Linked DNA regions of Homo sapiens: regions 1 and 2 are each linked to region 3. Evidence: promoter capture Hi-C in 16 types of primary human blood cells and fetal thymus (Javierre and others, 2016). All regions are on one chromosome and are shown on one strand. The core of a region is centred on a gene start or on the middle of the fragment in contact, and the rest is flanking DNA. Distances in the headings are between cores, read along the strand shown.

The links. Contacts are between HindIII fragments. The CHiCAGO score rates a contact against its expected background, and 5 or more counts as called.
Region 1: a contact is called between a fragment that was not itself captured here and the fragment with the promoter of CACNB4 in region 3, in 1 of 17 cell types (M2 macrophages). The highest score is 5.6, in M2 macrophages.
Region 2: a contact is called between a fragment that was not itself captured here and the fragment with the promoter of CACNB4 in region 3, in 1 of 17 cell types (M2 macrophages). The highest score is 5.5, in M2 macrophages.

Annotation. Positions count from the first base shown.
Region 1 is chr2:152,025,097-152,027,796 of GRCh38, forward strand. All of the region lies in intron 2 of CACNB4 (calcium voltage-gated channel auxiliary subunit beta 4), which reads right to left. Among named protein-coding and RNA genes, the nearest start is that of CACNB4, 73 kb to the right of the region's middle. RefSeq lists an enhancer at 1,035-1,104. The HindIII fragment of the contact is 2,245 bases long and covers 232-2,476 here.
Region 2 is chr2:152,169,359-152,172,058 of GRCh38, forward strand. The region is part of intron 1 of STAM2 (signal transducing adaptor molecule 2); the gene reads right to left. Among named protein-coding and RNA genes, the nearest start is that of STAM2, 5.1 kb to the right of the region's middle. The HindIII fragment of the contact is 4,391 bases long and covers 1-2,700 here.
Region 3 is chr2:152,097,751-152,100,450 of GRCh38, forward strand. It overlaps CACNB4 (calcium voltage-gated channel auxiliary subunit beta 4), which reads right to left and starts at 1,294. Exons shown (of 14, transcript NM_000726.5): 1 at 1,199-1,294; 2 at 580-663. The coding sequence starts at 1,261. RefSeq lists a silencer at 1,203-1,492. The HindIII fragment of the contact is 7,735 bases long and covers 1-2,700 here.

The sequences.
Region 1 (2,700 bases), core at 104-2,603, 73 kb before region 3:
TCTGAGGCCCGATATTAACTTTCAACTAATTTGTCATTTTGGCTAAATTATTTGCAAATACTAGCTTATCTATTGCTAGACAGTGAGCAAATTCTATTCTCCTAATCCTACACTACCTCTGAAACCTCTTCTTTCATATGTGTAAATTAAGTTTGATAGCTTTCCTGAAAACAGGAAATTGTTCAAAAGACTTAATTTTTTCTTTCCTGTCATAAAAAGTGTAATAGCTCAAGCTTCAGAGGCGAGAGCTGGGGAACGGTGGAATGAGAACCAAGAAAGACAACGACATTTTCTCTCAAACTGTCTACTTCAGACAACCTTATTCCAGATATGAGCACAAACTGGACTCGCTGCTAGCTCACAGCCTCTATTGTAAGCATAAGAAAGAGCAGAAATAAGACAAATATGCATTGTGCCTTAAATGCAAAGGAAGTGGCTGTAACACTAAAAGAATGATTGCCCAGGGGCCAGATTAAATAAAAAATCTAGGAGTTTGGAATATCTCAAATCATCTATGAAGTACAGAAAATATTTTGTTATTGTGACACAACAGCCTCTCTTCTAAAAGGAAAATAAACTTCAGGAAATTGAACTTCAAAGATGCCACTGTTTCAGTCATCAAAATTGGACATACCGTACTGTGTATTTTAAAGGAATAGTGCCCCCGTGTGGTTTTTGACAAGATTTCAGAAAATGTTCAGCGTTGTCTCAGAAGTCACAGTTACACTTGTTATACAAGAAACAGTGAATTTTTCTTGTGTGGATTTATTTTTAAATGTGATTACAGATGTGTTTGCAGTATAGTAGAAAAACGTCAGAGCTGTGAAGAGCTGTGTTTGCAGCGGGAGGGTTGCTCCATCTATCTCCGTGTTTAGTAAAGAGGATGTGAGAACAGGACGTGCACAGGGCGCCCCCTGCAGGTGCTGATGCAGCCGACACCTCTGGAGGCGCAGGGCCGAGGCCACCACAAGTCACTTGGCATGAATGTCCACAGAGCTTCCTAGGAGCTACCAGAAGTGAACCACATCTCCCCTCTTACCTGCAGTGGGTTCACACACTCTGCCTTTTCTCGTTGTTGTGAACAAACTGACCAAATCCCTTACAGACCGGCCCTTCCACTCGAGCACTGGATCTTACTCCAGGACAGGGCCCCAGCAATTTTCCTCCTTCCCTCCTGAATCTTCAGCGTCTTCCTTTCCACTGGACTGTTTCCATCAGCGTCAACATATAAACATGCTATCATATTAATAAAAACCCTCTCTGGGCTCCACTTCTCTAGTCCCTTTTTTTTTTTTTCTTCTTCTTTGAGACAGGTTCTCGCTCTGTCACCCAGGCTGGAGTGCAGTGGTGCCATCTCTGCTCACTGCAACCTCTGCCTCCTGGGCTCAAGCGATTCTCATGCCTCAGCCCCCTGAATAGCTGGGAATACAGGTGCATGCCACCACGCGCAGCTAATTTTTGTACTTTTAGCAGAGATGAGGTTTCTCCATGTTGGCCGGGCTCGAACTCCTGACCTCAGGTGATCTGCCTGCCTCGGCCTCCCAAAGTGCTGAGATTACAGCCATGAGCCACTGCACTCGGCCTCCACTCCCTTTTACTGCTATAGTACCTAGAAGAATTGTCCATATTAACTGACTCTAACTTCAATCTTTCCATTCTCTCTTGAACCCATTCCAATAAGGCTTTTCTGCTCACTACTCCAGACCAAAACTGGTCTTACTGAGGTCACCAATGGTATCCATATTGTTAAGTCCATTGGGGAATCTTGGGCTCATCTAACTTGACCCATTGACAGCATTTGACACAATTATCTTTCTTTTTTTTTTTTGATACGGAGTTTCACTCTGTCACCCAGGCTGGAGTGCAGTGGTGTAATCTCAGCTCACTGCAACCTCCACCTCCTGGGTTCAAGCGATTCTTCTACCCCAGCCTCCTCAGTAGCTGGGATTACAGGCACATGCCACCATGCCCGGCTAATTTTCGTATTTTTAGTAGAGACAGGGTCCACGTTGGCCAGGCTGGTCTCAAACTCCTGGCCTCAGGTGGTCCGCCCACCTCAGCCTCCCAAAGTGTTGAGATTACAGGCGTGAGCCAGGGCTCCCAGCCACATTCCTCCTTTCTTAGAATCATTTCTTCTGTTGGCTTTCAGGCACCTCCTCCCATTTTTCTGGCCACTCCTTCATCTCCTTTGTATTGTTTCAGCAAATATCTACTGAGAGCCTCTGACTGCCTGGGGCAGTTCTCAGCTGTGGAAATTGGATGCTGAACAAATCAAAGAGCTTACAATCTAGCAGAAGAAACTGTAATTAGATAGATTTTAAATATAAAATCAGGTATTCACAAGTTATGGTCAGGAAAGCCTCCCTGAGTTTTCAAGCTCCTCCCCTGCCACCTCCCCTCCTGACTCACACCAAGGGAAGTGACAGGAAAGCCATGTGCTACCTCTTTGGCTCCAGTGGGAAGCTCAAACCACACAAGCTTTGGCCCCAGCCCAAACCACTGACCACCATAAAAGCCAAAGCCGAGGCGGGCGGATCACGAGGTCAGGAGATCGAGACCAGCCTGACCCACACGGTGAAACCCAGTCTCTACTAAAAATACAAAAATTACCTGGGCTTGGTGGCGCACGCCTATAATTCCAGCTACTCAGGAGGCTGAGGCAGGAGAATCGCTTGAACCCGGGAGGCGGAGGTTGCAGTG
Region 2 (2,700 bases), core at 199-2,698, 72 kb after region 3:
CTCAACCTCCCTAGCTCAAGCCATCCTCCCACCTCCATCTCCCGAGTAGCTCGGACTACAGGTGCGCGCCACCATGCTCAGCTAATTTTTGTATTTTTTGTAGAGATGGGGTTTCATCATGTTGCCCTGACTGATCTCGAACTCCTGAGATCAAGCAATCCACCAAGTGTTTGGATTGCAGGTGTGAGTCACTGCACCCTGCCATCAATTTTTAAAAAGTAACCCAACAGAATAATAAAAGTAATGAGCAGGCAATTTATAGAAAAAGAAAACAGAATGATGAAGAAACATATGAAAAAATGCTCATCTTCACTGGCAATGAAGTAGAAATAGAAAATGAAATGAAAACAATGTCTTACTTCATATTCATCAGATAGGCATAAATTAGAAAATCTGACAATGCTCAGCATTAGTGAGGATGTGGAACAACAGGAATTTCACTGCTGACAGGAGGGAAATCAACAAACACTTGGAAGGGCAACTTTGCAAGAGCTACACTTTTTTTTTTTTTTTGAGATGGAGTCTCACTCTGTTGCCCCAGCTGGAGTGCAGTGGCACAATCTCCGCCTCCCAGGTTCAAGTGATTCTTCTACCTCAGCCTCCCGAGTAGCTGAGATGACAGGCATTCACCACCACACTCAGCTAAGTTTTGTATTTTCAGTAGAGACACGTTTCATCATGTTGGCCAGGCTGGTCTCAAACTCCTGACCTCAGAAGATTTGTCCACCTCAGCCTCCCAAAGTGCTGGGATTACAGGCATGAGCCACCACACCAGGCCAAGAGCTACACTTCTACTGAAGAATTCCCCTTCAAGACGACAACCTTTAAGAATTTTGCACTCCACTGGGCACAGTGGCTCATATCTGTAATCCCAGCACTTTGGGAGGCCAAGACGGGCGGATCACGAGGTCAGGAGTTCGAGACCAGCCTGGCCAACATGTGAAACCCCGTCTCTACTAAAAATACAAAAAAAAATTACCTGGGCATGGTAGCAGGCGTCTGTAATCCCAGCTACTTGGGAGGCTGAGGCAGGAAAATCATTTGAACCTGGGAGATGGAGGTTGCAGCGAGCTGAGATCGCGCCACTGCACTCCAGCCTGGGTGACAGGGCAAGACTCCGTCTCAAAAAAAAAAAAAAAAGAATCTTGCACCCATAAACACAAGAAAACATAGATAAAAACTTTCAATACAGAGCTGTCTGTAGGTGCAAGAAATTGAAAACAAAGTCATGTTCGTCAATAGGACAACAGATAATGCATATTCATATAGTAGTATAGTATCACGCAGCCATTAAAATTTATAACCTAGAGCTACAAACATCAACATGAATAACTCTCACGAAGAAATGCTGAATGGGCCAGGCACGGTGGCTCACGCCTGTAATCCCAGCACTTTGGGAGGCCAAGGCAGGCAGATCACCTAAGGTCAGGAGTTCGAAACTGGCATGGCCAACATGGCGAAATCCCATCTCTGCTAAAAAATGCAAAATTAGCCGAGCATGGTGGTGCGCACCTGTAACCCCAGCTACTCGGGAGGCTGAGGCACAAGAATTGCTTGAACCTGGGAAGCAGAGGTTGCAGTGAGCTGAGATTACACCACTGCACTCCAGCCTGGGCGACAGAGCAAGACTCCGTCTCAAAAAAGAAGAAATGCTGGATGACAAAAGTTGCAGAATGACAAAAAGACACCATTTTTAAGAAGTTTAAAAACATCCAAACAATATATAGTATATTTGTAAGTGTAGTATTATACTATTAAAGAGAATTTCTATCTATTTATAGAGTGTTTAACTCGGAGAAAGGAGGAAGAATGGGATCAGGTAGCTGCTAAAAATACTAAAGTATTTCACTGCATCTTGAATGTTCCTTTCTTAAAAAAAAAGAATCAAGTATATCAAAATATTAGCACTTGACATAATTGCCTGGCAGGAATGGGAGTTCATATTTTCTATTTTATGCTGAAAATATTTCATAGTTTAAAAAGCTACAAAATATATTAGAAAAAAAACTGGCTGTTAAGTCTACTATTCTTATTCAAAACCAAAAAACTTTTTAAAAAAATTTTTACTTTTACAAAGATTTTAACTTATTGTACAAAGAGTGGCCTAGTTAAGTAAATGTTATAAATTTGTGTGTATGTTATGAATTTATATTATTCTTATGCTATCAATATCTATTTTTATATTGGGATTTCTTATAAAATTTCACTGGAGAAAAGGACTGCATGACTGCATTTCACTGGAGAAAGTCCCAAGCTACTTCCTGGTCAACTTCTTCTAACACAGCAAAAGTCAGAAACACAGCAATACACACATTAAAATGTCACTTGGAAATGTATTCTCTTAAAAGCTAACAATTCAAACCACTGCGTCCACAGAGTTTTGTAGAGGTAGAATTTGAGCTCAGCTTTGTGGGACACAAGCGTATCTTTAAAGGAAATACCAAGGTTGAAAAGAGCAAACATTTAGCAATGAATGGTAAATAGCACAGAGGCAGAAAACTGGCAAGAAAGATTGCCTGGCTTGAGTAAAGGGAAAAAAGATATGCAAACAAGAACCGGAGTTAAGGCTTAGAACAGACAAGTCATGACTTGGAAATCAATGAATAAGGAAATGACATCTTCTCTGTTAACACTAACCACTGTGGCCCCGTCCCCCATGTTTCACTTTCCCCTTGGAATTCTACAAGAATGGCTACTCCA
Region 3 (2,700 bases), core at 44-2,543:
TTCCTATTTAACCAGATACAGCTGTCTTTCCCTAACTAAGCGAATCCAAGAAGCGGTCCTAAAGTGAGAGTAAACTTTCTGCTCAGTGTCTTTCTTTTGACCGGAGCTTGACGATCTCTCCCAAGATCCAGACAGATAAGAGTATTCAAATTAGGACAAAACAGAAGAAACCACTAAATCTCAACTCGAATCAAACCAGGTCCCCGGCCCCGAGGGGTCTGGTTACTCTAGGTCGAGTTATACGAATTAAAGACATTTCTCCACGCACCAAAGATACAACCAGACATATTTCCAGCTCTTAAATTCAACGTCCCTGACTTAAGCCAGGTCCCCACCGAACTGTCCACACACATGCACAAACTAACTTCCCGGGGCGGTGCGGAGACGCCGGGACGCGAAGACGTCAAGAGCCCAGGCTAGAGGGAGAGGGACTGAGCCCGAGCACCGGCCGAGGCCGGGAAGAGACGCGCGCGGGCTTGACCCGCAGCTCCCGCACGTGTGGGCCACGGCCGGCTCCAGGACCCCCGCGCCGCGCGCTCGGCCTCCTCCCCATCCTGGTCTCCCGCCTCCTTCTCATACCTGTCTGAGGATGAAGCTGGTCGAAGTGGTGCTGCCATCGGATCTTTTCAACCTGCTCCTCCGGGTTGTGGTGCCTCGGGCCACCTGGACTCGACACACGGGGGCCAGAGAGAAGCCGGTGAGGACCGCAGCGCAGAGCGGGGCGACCACCCCCGGCTGGAGTCCGCCTCCGGACCCGCTCCCTGGGGTCCCCTAGAGCCCGCACCCAAGTCTCCTCCGCGACTCCCAAATACAGCCCCCACCCCCACCCACCCACTGCAAGCCTCGACTGCTGAAAAGATGCTCGAGAAGAGCAGCCCGCAAGCACCCACCACATCCATTAACAAAGACTCTCAGGGTGCGGGGTCCGAGTCCCCGGCATCCGCTGGGGGAGGCTGCGGGCTCCGGAGCGGGAGCGCAGAGACCCGAAGGAGGGTGAGGAGGAGGAGGAAGAGAAGGAGGAGAAAGAGGAGGAGCGGGAGGAGAAAGGGACGTGGAGGAGGGGTGGGGGGAGCGGGGCCGCCGACTCCCGGGACTGGGGCCCCGCACGCCCGGCACGAAGGCGGGGCGCGCTAGGGCGGCGGAGGAGGTGTGAGGAAGGAAGAGGAGGAAGAGGAGAAGGGGGAGGAGGGGGCGGTACCTGCGAGGTGGGGGAGTGCGGCCCGTCCGCGGTCCCGTTCTTGGCGTAGGAGGAGGAGGACATCGTTCAGAGCCGCCGCATGGCCAGCCCGTGTGCGGTGGGCGGAGGGGGCTGGCCCCCGAGGCTGGGCTGCGGACGGAGGGGGAGGGCGCAGGACTTCCCCACCCGGCTCCAGGACCCGCGCCGGCGCCCAGGCTCCCTGCCCGCACTTCGGAGAGCGCGGCACCTTAAAGGGACCGAGGCGCTTCCCCCGCGCTCGCGGCGGGGTCCCGGGGAGGGGGCTTCTCGGAAACTCGCCTACCCGAGCGGATTGGGAGAAGCGCTCTCCCACCTAGCAAGCGCTTTACATCAGAGCTTCCAGAGGATGAAGGGAGGGGGAAATCTGGGATGGGGGTGGCAAGATTAAAATAGTCTGCACAGTTTAAAATGAGACAAAGGTGGCACGGTTCATGAATCAGGACTTGGGGACGGAAGCTGGTGCAGTGTGGCGGGAATGGGAAGAACCGAGCGGGTGTGTGTGTGTGTGTTTGCTGCACTGGAATTTTAAAAGGGCAAGAGCAGAGCCACCTTCCGCGACTTCACTCATCAGCCTAATGTGTAAGGCATGGGGTTTTGTGGCTTGCTTTTCGTCCGTGTTTTTGTATTGCTTTGGCAATTCTGTCCTTAGAGCTGCGAGTCACACACATCCAGGCAGCTGTGAGAAACCCAGCCAGCCTGAGTCTGACGGGAGATGCTGCCCCGCCAAAGACCAGTATGTCCTACGGAGTTTTGAAGGTCATGTTAGACCTGCTAAGAAGCAAGAGTTGGTCACTGTGCCTCCCATTTCTATGCGAATGGATATTTTCAAGGGGGAGAAACTCATCCTTGCAACCATACACAACGTTTGCCATTGGTTTCCTCCTGTAAATACATACAAGAGATTAATTTGTGATCAAATTAAAAGAGAGGGATTGCGGAAAGGAAGAATAAGTGCGAGGTATTGACAGAGGAATAAGAAGAGGGAAGAAAAGTATATGCAAATTCAAAAATAAAGAGACTCCGTTTAAATTAAAATATACTTACTATCTCAAATCGCTAAATCAGCTTGCATTCTAGGACTTTATGTTTATGGACACAACTACCATGCTTGTTTTAATAATTGCTTGGCTTTATTGAGGTCCTGGTTATATCTTACCATCCACCAGACACTTCCTTTCCATTCCTAATCCCTTCACTTAATCCAAACCTCTGTAACAATCTTATAACTAATGTCCTTGCCTCCAGGCTTCCTGGTGCATGTGCACGTATGCACATGCACACATACACACGCAGAGATTTCATTCCATCTACACACTACAGGCAAAACCATTTTCCTAAAATATCTTGCCCAAGTCACTCTTCTCTAAGATAAAGTCCAAACTCCATGGTCCAACAACTCAGCCTCTCCTGCATTTCTGATCACTCTCCATCTCATTTCTCCATCTTGATCTCTCTATACAAACCTTCCAGCAAGCAGGCAGGTC